Linked DNA regions of Homo sapiens: region 2 is linked to region 1. Evidence: promoter capture Hi-C in 16 types of primary human blood cells and fetal thymus (Javierre and others, 2016). All regions are on one chromosome and are shown on one strand. The core of a region is centred on a gene start or on the middle of the fragment in contact, and the rest is flanking DNA. Distances in the headings are between cores, read along the strand shown.

The links. Contacts are between HindIII fragments. The CHiCAGO score rates a contact against its expected background, and 5 or more counts as called.
Region 2: a contact is called between a fragment that was not itself captured here and the fragment with the promoter of WNT11 in region 1, in 8 of 17 cell types (non-activated CD4 T cells, naive CD8 T cells, naive CD4 T cells and 5 more). The highest score is 8.5, in non-activated CD4 T cells.

Annotation. Positions count from the first base shown.
Region 1 is chr11:76,203,975-76,208,530 of GRCh38, forward strand. WNT11 (Wnt family member 11) reads right to left here and starts at 2,528. Exons shown (of 5, transcript NM_004626.3): 1 at 2,351-2,528. The coding sequence starts at 2,433. RefSeq lists silencers at 2,441-2,680, 3,661-3,880 and an enhancer at 2,985-3,652. The HindIII fragment of the contact is 7,460 bases long and covers 1,496-4,556 here.
Region 2 is chr11:76,328,259-76,332,814 of GRCh38, forward strand. No RefSeq gene overlaps it. Among named protein-coding and RNA genes, the nearest start is that of THAP12, 51 kb to the right of the region's middle. The HindIII fragment of the contact is 2,592 bases long and covers 1,079-3,670 here.

The DNA.
Region 1 (4,556 bases), core at 1,278-3,777:
ATCTCTGTGTGCCCCAGTCTCTGTTTCCTCTTCTGTGCAACGGGGGTAATAGCAGCACCCACCTCACAGGGTGGTTGGGATATTTAAATGGAACAATATACATAAGGCACTTAGAACGGCACCTAGCACAAAGTGAGGCCATGTGTGTGTAGACATATATGTACATATACATAGATATATGCACGTGGCCTACACACGTGTATCTATATATACACATGCATACACAGATCGTTGTTATTCTTAAACTCCACCCCTTTTCCCACCTCCCCCTCTATCTTAAACTCTAGCAAGACTTTAATCCCCTATTGCTAGACTATCAGTTTCTCATAGGAGTGCAGTATGATCTAACTTACATGACCCAAGCTCTCGGAGCAGCGTCTGGGGCACTTAGGAGTAGGCTCTTGTGGTGCCTGGTTTCTCCAGGTCTCCCCGCATGCGCTGTTCGGCCTCCAGGCTTCTGCTCGTGCTGTGCCTCCCGCCTAGGACGCCTGCTTTGCACTCCGTCTCTGACCATCCAAATCCTCCCTGTCCTTCCAATCCTGGCCTATGCATCTCCCTTAGATAGAACTGATCACTCCTCCTCTGGGCTGCCATGCTCCCTCTGCTAGGACACAGACCATAGTCCACTTTGTATTTCTATATGTCCATCTCCCCCAAGAGCCTGGGGGCTTATTTAAGGCACACAATGAGTTGTACCCATTTCTGTGGCAGCCTGACTTTGCAGTGGGGACAGAGGACATGGACGTCAGGTTTAGCCAGCCGTCCATCCCACCACAGGCCAGCGTGGGGGCTTGCGTGCATCATGCCCTTTGCAGGGTCTCGGTGTTCCCACTGTGGAGCAGGGATGATGGCAGTGACCCCACAGGACTCTTATGGGCGGCAAATGACACCCAAGCCCACTGCAAGGCCTCTGACGCTCCTTCAGCCAATCCTCTCCTTCCCTGGACCTTAGTATCCTTATCTGTAAAATGGTGGCGGTGGATGAGAGAGCTTGGACTCGCTGATCGGAGGTCCCTGCCAGCTGGAACAGTGCTGGGTACCCCATTGCAAAAGGAAGGTGGCTGGTTTCTCACAGAACTCCTCAGGGACAGCTGGGAAAAGCTAGTGCCCAGGGCTGGGAGATTGCTGAGACCAGGCTTCTTGTAAACAAGAAAGGCAGGAAGACGGGGTTCCCTCCTCGAATCGTCAATTAATCAATAACTTGGCCTGAGAAGGGGCAGGGCCAGTGACCTCCAGACTGTTTGCTGGCGGCGCAGCCACTATCACCCTGTCTTCCAACTAATTCACAAACCCTTTGCAGCGCCCTCCCCAGCCCCCACAACCTGCCCCCTGCTGTCTTATCTGCAGGCTCCCTGCCCTGGCCCCAGATTCCAGACCCTTGTCCTGTCCTGGACTTTCCCTCTCAGGGAGCCCCTCTGCCCACAGCGTCCTCTCCATTGCCCGAACCAGCCAACTCCCAGCAGCGCTTCAGTCACCAGAGGCACAGCCTCGGAAAAGCTTCCCGGTGTCTCACATCTGTGTCCCCACCAGGTGGGCTTCCTTCCTCTAGGCCTCCAGATTCCCGCTCTGGTTTCTCCTCGGGCACTTGGACACTTGTGGAGTTATTTACAGCCTGGGCTTATCTCTCTCAACTTAGAGCGCAGCTCCTCCGGGAAGGGGCTGGTGTTTACTCCTCTCTTCACCACCCCCAGCCCCCTGAGCAGGCACTCCCTTCAGCTCGGCACCAAGCCTCTCTCTCCCTCCTACCCCTGCGTGAATAATTTCTATCTAAAGGAATGCCCTGCACATGTGCACAGTGGCATCTGACAGCTTCTGAGGTCCTTTCAGGAGCCTCTTCTCATCTGATTTGAGGGAGGTGGGGAGTCTCACCCTCCCGTGACAGAGGAGGACAAGGAGGCCCCAAGAAGTAGAGTGACACTTTCCCAAGGTCGCCCAGGTGGAGGGGTCAGGAGTGTCTCAGCGGAACTCCCGCTAGGGTCAAGGAGACTGACGGACAAGGACCGCTCCTGGGCTGGCCGCTCTGGATTGCGCCCCCTGAACAGAATGTCTTTTTCCATCTGCCCCTGCGGAGGTGGCCAGAAACTCCGTGGCCCTTGCGCCACCGTCAGCTGCACAGGACCAGGCGCTTCCATTGTGGTCCACGCCCGTCTCACTCCCTTTTCGCAAGCCTGCGGGAGGCAGGGACATTTTACAGAGGAGGAAACAGAGGCTGAGGGATGACTTGCCCACGACCGCCAAGCCAGCTTAGGCTCCCGGGTCTTGGTGCGCTCGCCCCATCCAGGGGACCCCAAAACGCCCTCCGCCGCCCCAGTCCCTGGCCTGTGCGCGTGGACGCGGGGTCCCTACTCACAGCCACTTGATGCCATAGCACACGCCGGTCTGGAGCGCCAGGGCGAAGAGCAGCGCCTCGCAGACCTGCGGCCGCGCCCTCATCGTCGCGCGGCGGGCGCGCCCGGGGTCACACCCAGGAGGAGCCGCGCCGAAGTCCTCCGCCTGCACGGCCGCCGCTGGTCCTGCACGCCGCCTGCAGCCGGGGAGAGCGGAGGCGGCGGGTTAAGGCGGCGCGCGGGCGGGGGAGGCGTTTTATTCAAATTACAAAGGAGGGGTCGGGGCCCGGGGAGGCCGAGCGCGGCGGGCGTCCCCTCCCGCTCCGCCCGGCCGGGGGACGCGTCCCGCGCCTGGCTCGAATTAGGCGCGGCCGAAGGCGTGTCTCCCAGCGTGGCCCCGGGCCCCAACGCGCCTTCGAGCCCCTCTGGCCGGGGCAGCCGGAAGGAGGGACAGGAGGCGGCAGAACCGGAGACCCAGGAGAGACCGGGCAGACACAGCGAGAGGGAGAAGGACGCTCAGAGGACAAGGCTGAGAGCCACGGAGACAGAGGGGGAAACCCGGACAGACGCAACCTGGGACGGAAAGGAGAGGAATGAGGAATCAGGAGTCCAGGCGAGGCAGCAGAGTCGAGGACCCGGAGCTGGGGCTTATCCCTGCAATATTGAGCATTAGTTAATAGGGCCTCGGCAATTCTCCTTCCCAAACGTGTTTCAGTTTACCTCCTCAGTAAGCTGGGGCAATTCGGGCACAATTCCGCTTTTATAAAGAACGTTCCCTGGCCGGGCAGGGTGGCTCACGCCTGTAATCCCAGCACTTTGGGAGGTCGAGGCGGGCGGGTCACCTGAGGTCAGGAGCTCGAGACCAGCCTGCCCAACATGGCAAAACCCCGTCTCTACTACGAATACAAAAAATTAGCCGGGCGTGGTGGCGGGCGCCTGTAATCCCAGCTACTCGGGAGGCTGAGGCAGGAGAACCGCTTGAACCCGGGAGGCGGAGGTTGCAGCGAGCGGAGATTGCGCCACTGCACTCTAGCCTGGGCGACAAGAGCGAAACTCCGTCTCAAACAAACAGACAAACAAAAAAAGTTCCCTAACACGATCGCATCTGCTCCTCCCAGCACCCCGTGAGATAGGCACTATCGCTGCCTCATCTCACAGATGAGGAAACTGAGGCACAGAGGTGGGGTTCAGCTAGGGAGCGGCAAGCCGGGTGTCCGGCGAAATCAGGAAATGGGGCTTGCTCGGGGCCCTGCTTTCTCGGTGTGGGAAGGGGAGGATGGGAAACGGGATGGTAGGGCTCTTTGTACAGTGAGGATTCCGAGTCTCCAAGTCCGTCTTTAGCCGCTCCACTTTGGAGGGTGGGAGTGGAAGCATGCGGGCTGGGACTGGGCAGCCCCGCCTTAGCGAAGCGGGGAAGCTCGCGGGGCTGGCGCGGTGTTGCCTCTGGCCTCCAGGCGGCGCCCTCGGGCCGCGGAGGAGAGGCTGCCCCGCCCGCCCGCAGCCCGCGGAGCAGCTATCTCCGCTTTTTTTCTCCTTCACTTCATTCTCACCTCATTAACTCCCTTCCCAGCTTCTCCCAAATTTACCAACACCTGGCGTTCGCCCGGAGTCAGACACAGCCCCAGCCCCTCTCCCCTCGGGAGGAGCAGAGACAAAGGGATTCCTTTCTAAGGGTTTGGGGAGTTGGAAAAGGAGGCGCCCACGGTAGTGGGGGCGCTGGAGCAGAAAAGGGACGTTCTTATCTGGCTCTGTGAGCTTGGGCAAGCCCTCAGCCACCCCAGCCTCGGTGTCCCCTTCCATAAGAACGAGGAATGGGGCTTCGCCGTGCGTCCCCCGAGGACCCCGTCTCCCTGCAGCCTGCGGGGCTCAGCGCCCCTCTGCTATTTGCACCGCGACGCCACCTGCGTGGCGCGTTCCTGCGCGTGGGTAGTCAGCACGCAGAGATGGGAAGCCCCACTGTTTTCTGGAGCCTGTCGGCAAAACCCACAGGAAGGCGAGGAGAAGCCTGGATCGTACAGTTTTTTTCCTCCGCAGAGCCCCGCAGCTAGCGCCCAGCACAGGGGCGCCTGCGACAAACATGCCGTCAAGGCTGGGGGTCTCAGAGGGGTTCTCGGTGTAACCCAGTCCCGTCCTCCCACCCAGCCTGTATCCAAATCCTTTGTCTTCCTGGTCCTGCAAGTTTCTTGCACTTCTCAGAACGAGAAAAATATCCGCTGGATATGGAGGGGG
Region 2 (4,556 bases), core at 1,125-3,624, 120 kb after region 1:
AGCCTCTTTGATGAATGATGCCACAAAGAGGCTGCTTCAGGGGACCCAGGGTTTGGCCCACTCTTTGGGCCTTCCCACCCAATCTGTGAAATGGCCAATTGTGAGTATATGAATATACTCAGCTCTGACAGGGAACCTTTCAGAGGAGCACCATGGTTAAGGAGCTCCCAAATGAGGGCATGGGCCCATAGCAGCCCAGGTGGCCCCATTCCTACCCTGAGTGGAGGGGTAGGGACCCTTAATTTCTGTAACACAAGTCAGAGACACTCAAAGCAGGAAGAAGTCTGGTCAACCATATGTTTCAGGTGCCTTGAAAGTCTCAATATTTGTTGAATGGGCGAATGAATAAAGTTCAGCTTAAGACTTTTTTTTTTTTTTGAGACAGAGTCTCACTCTGTCACCCAGACTGGAGTGCAGTGGCGCGATCTCGGCTCGCTGCAACCTCCACCTCCTGGGTTTAAGCGATTCTCCTGCCTCAACCTCCAGAGTAGCTGGGACTATAGGCACACGCCACCATGCCCTGCTAATTTTTGTATTTTTGGTAGAGACGGGGGTTTCACCATGTTGGCCAGGCTGGTCTCGAACTCCTGACCTCAGGTGATCCACCTGCCTCAGCCTCCCAAAGTGCTGGGATTACAGGTGTGAGCCACCATGCCTGGCCAAGACTATTTTAAAGAAAGATGCCACTGCTGAACAGTAAAATCAAAGACCTCATTTAACAGCCCTCATCTGACAGAAGAGAAACATGCCCGGTGAAGGGCCCTTCTTGCTGACATTTCCAAGTAACACAAGGGACCAGGCAGGCGTCCCAAGCCCAGGTGTCTGATGGCTGCTCTTCTGCTGAGTGAGAGTCCCCCAGGACCCCGCTCCAGGGCCTGGGCTCACTACTCCATAAGCAGCCCCACTGCTTGCCGGCAGATCTGCAGCTTCCGCAGACACTTCCAGCTTTCAGTTCCTTGAACATTCCTGTCATTCCTTGGGCAAACCCACTCTACTCCACATTTCTTTGAACTTCCCCGACTTCCCTGACCCTCTGCGACTAGCTGTGTGACCCTGGGCAAGTTGCTCAACTTCTGCAAGCTTGAGCCTCCACATCATGAAAGCGAGAGAAGCATTACTGACCCCGAAGGGCTGCTGTGAGGCCCACAGCTCCAGCTGAGAAAGTGCATGATAAAGTCAACATGATGGGACCTTCACTCTGTGCCAGACATGTGCAAGACAGGGTTATGTCCTGCACAAAGCAGTGTAGGGGTTAAGCACAGATTAGATTCACAGGTGGGGCCAACCTGAGTTAGAATTCTAGCCCTACCACTGACTCACTGTGTAAACCTGGGCGAGTCCCCTTAGCCTTTCTAGGACTCTCTTTTCTTGTCTGTAAAATGGAGACAATAATACCTACTGTTGCTTAAAGGATGAAAAGGGAACCCCATAAACGAAGTGCCCTGCCCAATGCCCAGCATACAGCAGGTGCTCAGTGAAGGGCCACCTCCACGCACCTCCTTCTCCATGAAGTCCCCAGCAGGCTGGTCCTGCAGGTCCCCCAGTGATCTAGAGTCCCAAGTGTGAGCACTGGCCCCTGCTGCTTTGTAAGTCCTCTGCCCAAAGCTGTGGAGTCCTACTTGGGTCTAACTGGGAACACCAAAGTAAAGAGGAATGAGGGGGCCCCAGGATGGAGAGTTTGGAGTGGGGCTGCTGTGTAGGATGGCAGCCAGCAGGCCTGGCCCTGAACCCCAGGGCCACCACCTTTTTAAATCAGATCCTTCCCTCCAAGCAAGCAAACAATCTGGCTCTGGCGGAGGCCCTGGTCAAGCACAGCAGAACCTTTGTGAGCTCTTGACTCTCCCCCTGCCTCCCCACTTCATCCTTGTCATCGCCTGCAGGGAGCTCTGGGGGTGGTGCTTTGGGCAGGGGAGCAGCTGGTAGGCTGCTGGCTTAGCCTGATGTTAAAGGCCTGAGGGGCTGGTCTCACCCTCTAGCCACATCTCCCTCCAGCCCCCTCCTCCCCTCCCAGGCTGCCGCTTGGTCTTTGCAGGCATAGTTGTCTCTCCCTTTGATACTCTGGAGAGGTAGAACTGAAGTGGAGGCTAGGGCTGTGGAAGGGCAGGGAGAGGTCTTCGTTGCAAGAGAGGCCAGACTTGTCCTCACGCCCTTTGCTGTTCCTGGTGCGGAGCAATGCTTCACCTCCGCCCTGGCCAATTCTAAACCCTCAGACCCTAGTTTAAGTCTGTTGGCAGGGTAGCTGCAGCCCTGAGAGGTACTTTGCTCCTCCATACAAAGAGGTGAAACTCTCTAGACCCTCACAGGGCAGCTTTCTGTGCACCTCAGAGACTTGACGAGACTCCTGGGACTCCTGTCCTTGCCTTTCATGTGTGGCCATACCAGGTGCTTCATCACCACTCAGTAGAGCTTAGGCTCCAAGAACCTGCACTCTGAAACCTCTGTCTCTCCAAGATCTAACCTTGTACGAGTTATTGCTCAGAATCCTCCCGCTGCAGCCCGGACCCCTGGGTAGTCCCTCTTCATTCTTCAGGTCCAGCTGGGGAGGTGTCCCTGTAACACCTGCGCTTAGTACTGCCCTGCTTACCCATCACTGCCATGATGGCAGAGCCTCCGCCCGCCTCACTCACCGCTGGACCCCAGTGCCTGGGACAGGGCTGGGAACAAGGTAGGGGATCCAGAAACAAGTATTGTCTGCCTGGCCAAGGTCCCCCATCCCCTTCACTGTCAGCACCTGGACCCACCTTCCCTTCACTGACAAGGTGAGCATTATTACATGAAAAAAAAAAAAAAAAAAAGTCAGTCAAGTAACAAATGGAGAAAACATTTGGATGCAAGACACAAAATGCTAATTCCCCCTTGTTTTTGTAAAGCAATAAGAAAAATACTTTTGCTCATATTTTTTGTTTTTTTTGGAGACAGGGTCTCACTCTGTTGCTCAGGCTGGAGTGCAGTGGCATGATCACAGTTCATTGCAGCTTCAACCTTCCAGGCTCAGGTGATCCTCCCACCTCAGCCTCCTGAGTAGCCAGGACTACAGGCACGCACCACCACACCTGGCTAATTTTTTTTTTTTTTTTTTTTTGAGACAGAGTCTGTCGCCCAGGCTGGAGTGCAGTGTTGCGATCTCGGCTCACTGCAAGCTCCGCCTCCTGGGTTCACACCATTCTCCTGCCTCAGCCTCCCAAGTAGCTGGGACTACAGGCTCCCGCCACCATGCCCCGCTAATTTTTTGTATTTTTAGCAGAGACGGGGTTTCACCGTGTTAGCCAGGATGGTCTCGATCTCCTGGCCTTGTGATCCACCCACCTCAGCCTCCCAAAGTGCTGAGATTACAGGTGTGAGCCACCGCACCCAGCCATGCCTGGCTAATTTTTAAACTTTTTGTAGAGATAGGATCTCGCTATGTTGCCCAGGCTTATCTCGAACTTCTGGGCTCAAGTGATCCACCCACCGTGGCCTCCCAAAGTGCTGGGTTTACAGGCGTGAGCCGCCACACCTGGCCCATATTCTTTATCAAATTGAAAAAAACATTTTACAGAAAAGAGGAAACACACACATGATATATATATATACACACACATATAAATATATGTATATAATTTTTTTTTTGAGACAGGGTCTCACTTTGTCACCCAGGCTGGAGTGCAGTGGAACAATCATGACTAATTGAAGCTTTGACTTTCCAGATTCAAGCAATCCTCCTGCCTCAGCCTCCCTAGTAGCTGGGACTACAGGCATGTGCTACCACACCGGGTAGTTATTTTATTTTATTTTATTTTATTTTTGAGATGGAGTTTCGCTCTTGTCACTCAGGCTAGAGTGCAGTGACACAATCTCGGCTCACTGAAACCTCCACCTCCTGGGTTCAAGCGATTCTCCTGCCTCAGCCTCCTGAGTTGCTGGGATTACAGGTGCCCGCCACTACATCTGGCTAATTTTTGTATTTTTAGTAGGGACGGAGTTTTGCCATGTTGGCCAGGCTGGTCTTGAACTCCTGACCTCAAGTGATCCTCCTGCCTCCGCCTCCCAGAATGCTGGGATTACAGGCGTGAGCCACCACACCCCGCCTGGGTAGTAGTTTTAGTAGAGATAGCAGTCTCACCATGTTACCCAGCTGGTCTTGAACTCCTGGGCTCAAATTATCCTCCTGTCTCAGCCTCCTAAATTGCTGGGATTACAAGTGTGAGCCACCACACATGGCCCAACACTTTTATGTGTTTAAAAAGATGCTTAGTTAACTTCACTTATAATAAAAGAAAAATTAACTAAAATCGGTGAAATGTGCTTTTTGAGCTATGTCTCTCAGATTGGCTTAGACCAAATGGGCTATTTATGAGAGATCTACTTACATGTTTGCAGTAATGGGGAAAGATATTTGTTGCAGCATTGTTTAAAGCAGAGGTCAGCAACCTTTTTCTGTAAAGGATAGACAGTAACTATTTTAGGCTTGAGGACTATACAGTCTCTTGAACTCCTGGGCTCAAGTGATCTACCTGCCTCAGCCTCCCAAAGTGCTGGAATTACAGGCGTTGAGCCACCATACCCAGACTATATGG